Regions from separate parts of the Homo sapiens genome. Here region 1 is linked to region 2. Evidence: promoter capture Hi-C in 16 types of primary human blood cells and fetal thymus (Javierre and others, 2016). All regions are on one chromosome and are shown on one strand. The core of a region is centred on a gene start or on the middle of the fragment in contact, and the rest is flanking DNA. Distances in the headings are between cores, read along the strand shown.

Region 1 (3,892 bases), core at 585-3,084, 250 kb after region 2:
CCCAGCACATGACGTGTGGGCTCTGGGAACACAGCCAGCCTGACGCCTGCCTGCCACGTGCTCTCGGGGACAAGGGGCCTGCTCAAGGCACAGGGGGGTCAGAGGCATATCACGCAGCTCCTCCAGGGCCCAGAGCCCAAGCACACCTCCCTCCTGTCCTTCCCTCGGGCCCGCCGCGTATGCACAGGCGTTCCCAAACACCGGCTTCTTCCCGTCTTTCCTCAGGATCACCTCCTGGGACTGGCACCCCTTCAACCTGGGGCCAAGGCGGGGGCTCAGGCTGCAGACCAGGGAACCCCTCCTCCCGCCTGCCAGCCACCGAGCCCCACCCACACGTCTCGGTCCCGCCCCTGCTCCCGTGGGACCCGGGAAGGTTGGGGCCCCAGGTCCCCAGTTTTTTGCTTCACTATCCAACTCGTGTCAATCTGAGGCTCTGTGGTTTGAGGATTTTCCAATTCGGACTGGGGCCTGTCCCACGGCACGAGAGAAACTCCCAACACCCACCCGTGTGGGGCCCAGGAGCTGCAAGCGGCTTCCTCCCAACACCTACCCATGTGGGGTCCCAAGGTCTGCAGGCAGCTTCCTCCCAACACCCACCCATGTGGGGTCCCAGGGGCTGCAGGTGGCTTCCTCTGAGTTTAGGGGGAGGAAGTGGGGGGACGGTTCTTGTGGAACTTCCAGACAGACAGGCTCCTCCCAGACTCCTTTCCAGCCCCGAGGCAGCTCCCTCCTCCTGGAAGGGGAGACCCTTGCCTGGGGGGCGCTGCCCACTCACCGTCTGAAGGCGAGGAGCACGCGGAGCTGGCCCACTTTGTTCACCTTTACCACGGACGCCCCCAGCTTCCTCTTGTCCCTGGCCGGCAAGAATCCCTGGGCATCAGTGGCAGTGGCCAGAATGTACCAGAACCCTGAAAACTGCGCAGCGGATGTGTGGGCGGGGACAGGAGCTGCCACCGGGGGCTGTCCCCACCCCCGAGGTTCCCAGCTAGAGAACCCAGGAGACAAATGACCCTTCTGTGAGCCGGAGTCCCAGCTCCGCCCAGGTGCCGCCTCGGTCCCGGCCACTCAAGCCCTGGCCACTGGAGCAGGGCTGCAGAGAAGCAGGTGCCCGGCTGGTCAGGGACCCCAGGCAGCAAAGGGCTGGGCTGTGGGCGCCAGCAGGTGGGAGGCCCCCTACCTCAGAGGCCCCGGCTCCTTCCCACATGGCCTCCTGGGGGCTGGGTACTGCTCGGCCACTTCCCTTCCTGCCGGCCCCCGGCCCCCAACTCTGCCTGCTGCCAACCCTAGCGCCCTGGGCACCGCCGTGCCAATGAGTGCTGCTCCCACGGCTCACTCAGCAGGTGCCCGGGCCCTCCCGCTACAGAATATGCCCCGCTTGCTCCACACCCACTCTGCACTCTGGGCGTCTCCCGACCTCCTCGGCCACAGCTCTCTGGGCCCCTCCACCCTGGCCCTCCCTGACCCCCCTGGGCCCCCGAACCCCCTCGAGGCTCCCTGCCTTTGCCCTGCAACTTGCGGGGCCCCTGTGCTGGAGGCTGCAGTGGGAGAGGCCAGGTGGGCAGCGCCCGTGCCTGGAACTGCTGGTAGCCCTGCTCCTGGGCGGCTGCCGGGAGACTGTGCAGGAGCCTGCTCCAGCTCCAGAGCCGGCGCCCGGCTCAGGGACCAGTGGCACATGGCTCACCTTGTTCCAGTTGAGGGCGTGGGACTCCCTGGGGTACCACTCCTGCACCTGGGACCCTGCAGCCAGCACTAGCACCAGCACCAGCACCAGCGCCAGCACCAGCAGCCCCTGCCTCATCTTCACCCTCCTCCCTCAGCCGCCAAGGCCAGTGTTTAAACCTCTCTGGAGCCGCCAGCCTGTGTCGGGAGAGGAGGGAGGGGAGGGAGCGGAGGGAGGCAACAGGTGTGGCCTTGGGCTCTGCTACCCTCTCCCCGCCCAGGGACCACCCCCAGACACTCCAGGGAAGCCGGCACTGCCCCACCTGGTGGTCACTGCTGGCCTGGGCTGCCCTGGCAGACAGAGGCCCCTCTGAGGCCCCAGGACCCTCCTGCCCTCAGTGCCCGGCCTGGGGTCACTGTGTGTGCCCCTGAGACTCATTAAGCCCTGGCCCTCATCCTAGACCTCCCAGGTGACAGGCAAAGGGCTGGTCGTGGCCCTTCTGGGGCAGATGTGGACATGGTGAGCTCTGCGCGGCAGCCACACACACAGCCCCCACCACCTTCTTGAGGGCCTGGCACCAAGCACCTGAGCAGGTGCCGAAGGGCGGGCCGGGGCTGTGTGCCCGTGCCCATGAATGTGTGTGTGTGCATGTGTGGGTGTGTGCTCACATGTGCATGCGTGTGCATGCCCAGCCTTGCAGGTCAAGGCATCTGTGTGCACCTCGCCTCACTCCAGCATGAGCCTCACACAGTCCCCAGCCCCCCATCCAGCCCCGAGACCCCCATGGCCTGTGCTTCTCCCAGGACGGCAGGCAGCGCAGCCCCCCACACCCATCAGAACACAGGAGGACCTGCAGGCTCAGGTGTCTGGGGTCCCTGCCCCTGCCCAGGCAAGAGACACAACCCCAGCCCAGAGAAGCCTGAGCCTGGGGAGTCAGGGGCTGCTCTGAGCCCCACCAGCCACCTCTCTCTTGTCCTGGGCAGTCCTTGGAGCCTCTGGCACCCCAGCTGCGGTCCTGGTGGAGCTCACTGCTGGCTTCCTCCCAGGCTGTGTCCTCTGACCAGCCCCCGCCTCTGAGCCCGGGCCTGAGTTTGGGTGTCTGAAGACCCAGAGGGGCTCTGGCAAGGGACTGGGTTGGGCACGCGTCTTCTTTGCAGCTGGCTCTATGGTTCTGTGGCTTGGCCCTTGGTGACGACCCCCGCCATCCTCCCCGCAATTCCCCGGCTGGCCCCCAGTCAAAAGCATCCTTGGTTTGCTGTGGAATCGCTTTATTCTGAGCTGGTGCTGGGCCCCGGGAGCCGCTGAGCGAGGTGGGTGGACACTGGCCGAGGTCACAGGACCCTGTGGGCGCCATCCCTACTGGGGACGCAGCACTCACTGAAAACCAAGAGGAGTGTGAGGGGGCCCAGCCCACCATGGAGGCTCCTCCACACCCTCAGCTGCCTTAGAGACAGTGGAGCCATGAACCCCGTGGGCTTGGGCAGAGGGTCCTCCCACCCACTGTGCGTAGGGTGGCCTCCCCCACCCCCTTCCCCCAAGAGAGCCCAGGGTGAGGCTCAGGATGGCGGCTTACCAGAAGGATCTTGTGAGCACAGGTGACTAGAAGGGGAGGCAAGACTGGCTGTGAAAAAGGACTGAGCCCCCCAGCACCCCAGGGCCCCACCCACAAGACTCGCCTGCCGTGGGGACAAGACCCCCAGGCCTGACTTTGGGCAGGGGCAGGTGAAGACCCCCTCAGCCTGCCTGACTCCTTCAGGGCGACTGAGTCAGGCAGAAGCCAGAATCAACCCCAGGGTCTCTGTCACCCCATCACGCCCTGTGGGCTCCAGAACTTGCCCCAAGCCTCCCCCGAGGCTGCTCCGGTGGACACTCACGGTCCTTCTGCAGCTGGGCCTGCTACTGTGACAGGAAGCCCAGGCTCCTGCTCCACTTGGTGAAGAGCCCCATGGCCTCCTGGCTGGCTGTCTCCGTCAGACCTGGGGGCACCAGGGCAGTGCAGGGGGAAGCAACCTCTGAGAGCTGGGGAGGGGCCGGGGAGGGGCTGGGAAGGGTCAGGAAGGAGGCCACCTGCCCTGGGATGCTGGCCCCGGTCCTTCCAAAGCCACCTCCAGTGCAGCGAGCCTCAAGGTGGGGGAACTTGGCCTGCATGTGGTCCTGTGCGGCCCACCCACCACACAGCTCCCCACATGGCCCCCGAGCGGCCCACTCACCACACAGCTCCCCATGTGGCCC
Region 2 (4,212 bases), core at 164-2,663:
CTCCCCGGAGGCACAGGGCACATTGACGGCATTGCCAGCAGCCTCGTTACTGCAGGAGCGTCATGCTCCTCATCTCCAGCATCTTCAAGCATGTTGGGCACATAGCAGGTCTCAGAGAACATTTTTCTGGAATCATTGAGCCAAGTACTTACCATGTAAGGTGCTAAAAAGCACTAGGAATGAAGCAGAAAGCTCAAGGCTGATGTCGATGTCACAGTAACCTGGGACCGCAGGCCCCCAGGGCCACAGGAGGAACTGCTGGCTGTCCTTGAGCTGAGGCAGGGTCTTGGTAAGCTCACGAGTCCTCTATCCCCAAACCATGCACAGATGTCTGCTGAGTCCCTGCTGTACCCCAGGCACTGCTAGGAGCTGGGCTGTGGCCGTGAGACAGACAAGCCCAGACTCTGCCTCCGGGGAACATGGATGCTGGCTGGCCACAGAGGTGCCCATACAGAGGGCACCATGCAGTGTCTGCTGGGGACAGGCAGGAGGAGAAGGAGCATTTCTGGCTGAAGTGAACAGTCCACATGAGGCTTCTGCGGGGTGAGCGGCCAGTGGGCGTAGGCTAGTGTGGACTCTGTAGGCTTGCTAAGAGACCCGCAGGTGGTGTCTGGAAGTATAGGAAGCTTCCAGAGGCTTTTCAGCCAGGAGCGATGCAACCAGTTTGGGCCCCAAAGGCTCTCCAGGTTAGGGTTCGAGCTAGGGGCTAGGGAGAGCCAGGGCCCAGGAGGCAGCCTTGGGTGGCCTAGGAGAAAGAGGCGCTGAACCCAGGAGAGTCCCCAAGAACCCGGGAGAGTCCCCGAGGGCACAACCCCAGCACAGCACGGGGTTCACACACAGCAGGCAGGAGACAGTCCTGAGCATTGAGTGATGATTTAAGTGGTGGACATGGACTTGGTGGCCTGGGGACTGTAGATAGGGAAGAGAAAAGGGCCCGGGTGGAGCTGGGAAGAGCTCCAGTATTCGATGCCAGGCCAGTCGTGGCATTAACTCCTGGCAAAGTATCCGATGCCAGGCTGGCCATGGTATTGACTCCTGGCAAAGTGGCCCAACAACCCCCTTCTCCCCTCTGAGCAGCCGTCTCCCTGTCTGAAAAGTCACCAGGCTGGATGGCATCAACTCTACAGGCCTTCCTGCTCCTCTGAGGGCAGGTGACTCCTCGTGGTTTGACACGGACCGGGAATCACATAGCCCTGGCTCAGTGAATGGGCGAACTTGGCTAAGTCGCCTAACCTCTTTGAGCCCCAGCTTCCTCATGTGTAAAACAGGATAATAGCAGTGTCGCGGGGGATGGCCCTGGGCGTGGGGTGAGGGCCATTTCTGCCCTGTGGTCACTCGGGAGGACCTGTGGGGCGCTGGCAGAGCAGTGCCACCAGGGGGAGGCAGAGAGCCGCCTCTGAGTCGGCCAAAGTAACAGGTGCACGCTTGCCAGGTGAGGTTGCTCCCATCTGTCGTCTCAGCATTTTGGGAGGCCAAAGTGGGAGGATCACTTGAACCTAGGGGTTTGAGACCAGCCTGGGCAACATAGCAAGATTCCATCTCCACAAAAAGAAAAAAAAGTAAAGTTATACACTTTTCTTTTTTTTTTTTGAGACCGAGTCTCACTGTATCCCCCAGGCTGGAGTGCAGTGGTGCAATCTCAGCTCACTGCAACCTCCTCCTTCCGAATTCAAGCAATTCTCCTGCCTCAGCCCCCCCAAGTAGCTGAGATTCTAGGTGCCCACCATGGTGCCCAGCTAATTTTTGTATTTTTAGTGGAGAGGGGGGTTTCACCAGTTGACCAGGCTGGTGTGGAACTCCTGACCACAGGTGATCCTCTCGCCTCGGCCTCCCGAAGTGCTGGGATGACAGGTGTGAGCCACCACGCCTGGCCGTAGTTATAACTTTTCTAAGGTTCATTTTATTAAATGGAAAAATGCCAAACAGAACGACAAAGGCTGTGGTAGAATGTGCACGTTTGTGTGGACCCAGGGCACATTTTCACCAGAAAATCCCGTGCGATAGAGTGGAAGATATACCAAAAGCCACAGCAAATATCACGCGTGACTCCGCAGAAAATTATAGATTCCTAACAAACACTGAGAGTGTGTCCTGTGCTGTAAGGTCCAGGGATGGGCCACAAGTTCAAGGTTGTGTGAAGAACAACGGAAACCCACCTCTGAGGCCCTGGGCACCTGGCACCTGTCGTGTTGGGCATGAATAAAGCTTCGCAGCTCAGTCCTGCAATCTCCATGAGCCTAGACTTGTCCATCTTAAAATGTAGACGGTTAGGACACCTGCTGAAGGGGCCGCCAGGCTTAACTGTGCCAACACGGCATGCAGGTGGAGAACAAAGAATGCGATTGAAAACCTCCTAACGATAACAAGAGCTGTTCCCTTTCTGAGCCCTCACCCCATGCCCAGCGTGCACCAGCAGCTCACCATCGCAGGCCCAGGGCCAGCACCCAGGTCCCCACTTGACCCACGAGGACACTGAGGTACAGCAACAGCCAGGACAGCAGCCGCCAGGTGGAAAGCAAAGACACAAAGCAGCCAGATCGGGAGTCACGTCGGGGCAGGCGACTGAGGCGCCACCCAGCCACCTTCAAGATGCAGATTGAAGAACAGCCTTTCCCAAAGCTCGCTCACTCACTGACCCTGCGTCTTCGTCTGCAAAGCCTGAGTAACGTGGGAGGCCCTGCAACGCCCCCTCTGAGAGACCTCCACTAACGCCAGCACTTTTTTTTTTTTTTTTTTTTTTTTTTTTTTTTTTTGTGAGAGTGTCTTGCTCTGTCGCCCAGGCTGGAGTGCAGAGGCATGATCTCTGCTCACTGCAAGCTCCGCCTCCCAGGTTCACGCCATTCTCCTGCCTCAGCCTCCCAAGTAGCTAGGACTACAGGCGCCTGCCACCACGCCCGGCTAATTTTTTGTATTTTTTAGTAGAGACGGGGTTTCACCGTGTTAGCCAGGATGGTCTCAATCTCCTGACCTTGTGATCCACCCGCCTCAGCCTCCCAAAGTGCTGGGATTACAGGCGTGAGCCACCACGCCTGGCCAACGCCAGCACTTTCAACGCACCGGGACCAAGCTGGACCCGGTTTTGTTTTGAAACACTTTTACTTTTGCAGACGAATACGTCGGTGTCCCACCAGGAACCGCTGCTGGTGGATGCTCACCACGGGAAACAGCCGCGTGACGCTCCCCCTTGTCTGCCTCTGCCCAGTGCTGCCCCCTCCAGCAGAGCTCCTCATGTGTGGTTCGTGGATTTGGGTCCACGATGAGATAAGGAGCCACACAGAACGAAATCAGTCCACCGCTGAGCACGCAGTTGAGCCCCACGGACACCCTTTGCAAGTGAGACTTTTGGGATGAAGGCAGCACAGGCCTGTCGATCCCTGGAGCAGCCCGGGGGCTACGGCACCGTGCTTCCCTCTTGGATGGAGGCAGCCCTGCCTGCCGGGGGCCTGATTTGTGGGCCCTGATGAGTTGGTGCCTCCGGGCTCTTGGGACCCTCCTTTGCTCTATCCAGAGGGACGCAGCGCCACACTCGGGGTTCACGCCGGCAGCGGCGTGGAGTGAGTCACCAGGCTGAAGATACACTTGGTGTTTTCCTGCGCTGGGTGGAACTGTCTGGAGCCCCCTTGGCATCCTGCTGAAGAGTCCGAATCTGGACGTGAGCCTCCTGGAGATACTGAACACCTTTTAAAGTGTGGCCAGGCCCAATCTAGGGTGCTGTGAGTGTACTGTACATCCTGGGTTTCAAAGACACAGTACCAAAAACAAACAAACAAAAAGAATATAAAACATCTCATTCACGGCCGGGCGTGGTGGCTTACGCCTATAATCCCAGCACTTTGGGAGGCCGAGGTGGGCCGATCACGAGGTCAAGAGATCAAGACCAGCCTGGCCAACATGGTGAAACCCCCTCTCTACTAAAAATACAAAAATTAGCTGGGCGTGGTGGCAGGTGCCTGTAATCCCAGCTACTCGGGAGGCTGAGGCAGGAGAATCGCTTGAACCCGGGAGGCGGAAGTTGCAGTGAGCTGAGATCGCACCACTGCACTCCAGCCTGGGTGACAGAGGGAGACTCTGTCTCAAAAAACAAAAAACAACAAAAAAAAACTCATTCACTTTTTATGTTGTGTTAAAATAATATTTTTGATATATTGGATTAACTAAGCTGTAGTATTAATATACACTTTGCCTGTTTCTTTTTACCTTTTTAATGTGGCT

What was found. Contacts are between HindIII fragments. The CHiCAGO score rates a contact against its expected background, and 5 or more counts as called.
Region 1: the fragment with the promoter of LCN10 here is called in contact with a fragment that was not itself captured in region 2 in 1 of 17 cell types (naive B cells); the score reaches 6.4 in naive B cells.

Annotation. Positions count from the first base shown.
Region 1 is chr9:136,741,106-136,744,997 of GRCh38, forward strand. It overlaps LCN10 (lipocalin 10), which reads right to left and starts at 1,835. Exons shown (of 6, transcript NM_001001712.3): 1 at 1,682-1,835; 2 at 776-915; 3 at 147-256. The coding sequence starts at 1,798. It overlaps LCN6 (lipocalin 6), which reads right to left. Exons shown (of 7, transcript NM_198946.3): 5 at 3,535-3,636; 6 at 3,234-3,259; 7 at 2,912-3,037. The coding sequence ends at 3,557. RefSeq lists a silencer at 1,240-1,339. The HindIII fragment of the contact is 7,084 bases long and covers 1-3,892 here.
Region 2 is chr9:136,487,437-136,491,648 of GRCh38, forward strand. No RefSeq gene overlaps it. Among named protein-coding and RNA genes, the nearest start is that of C9orf163, 6.0 kb to the left of the region's middle. RefSeq lists a silencer at 1,425-1,474. The HindIII fragment of the contact is 1,579 bases long and covers 625-2,203 here.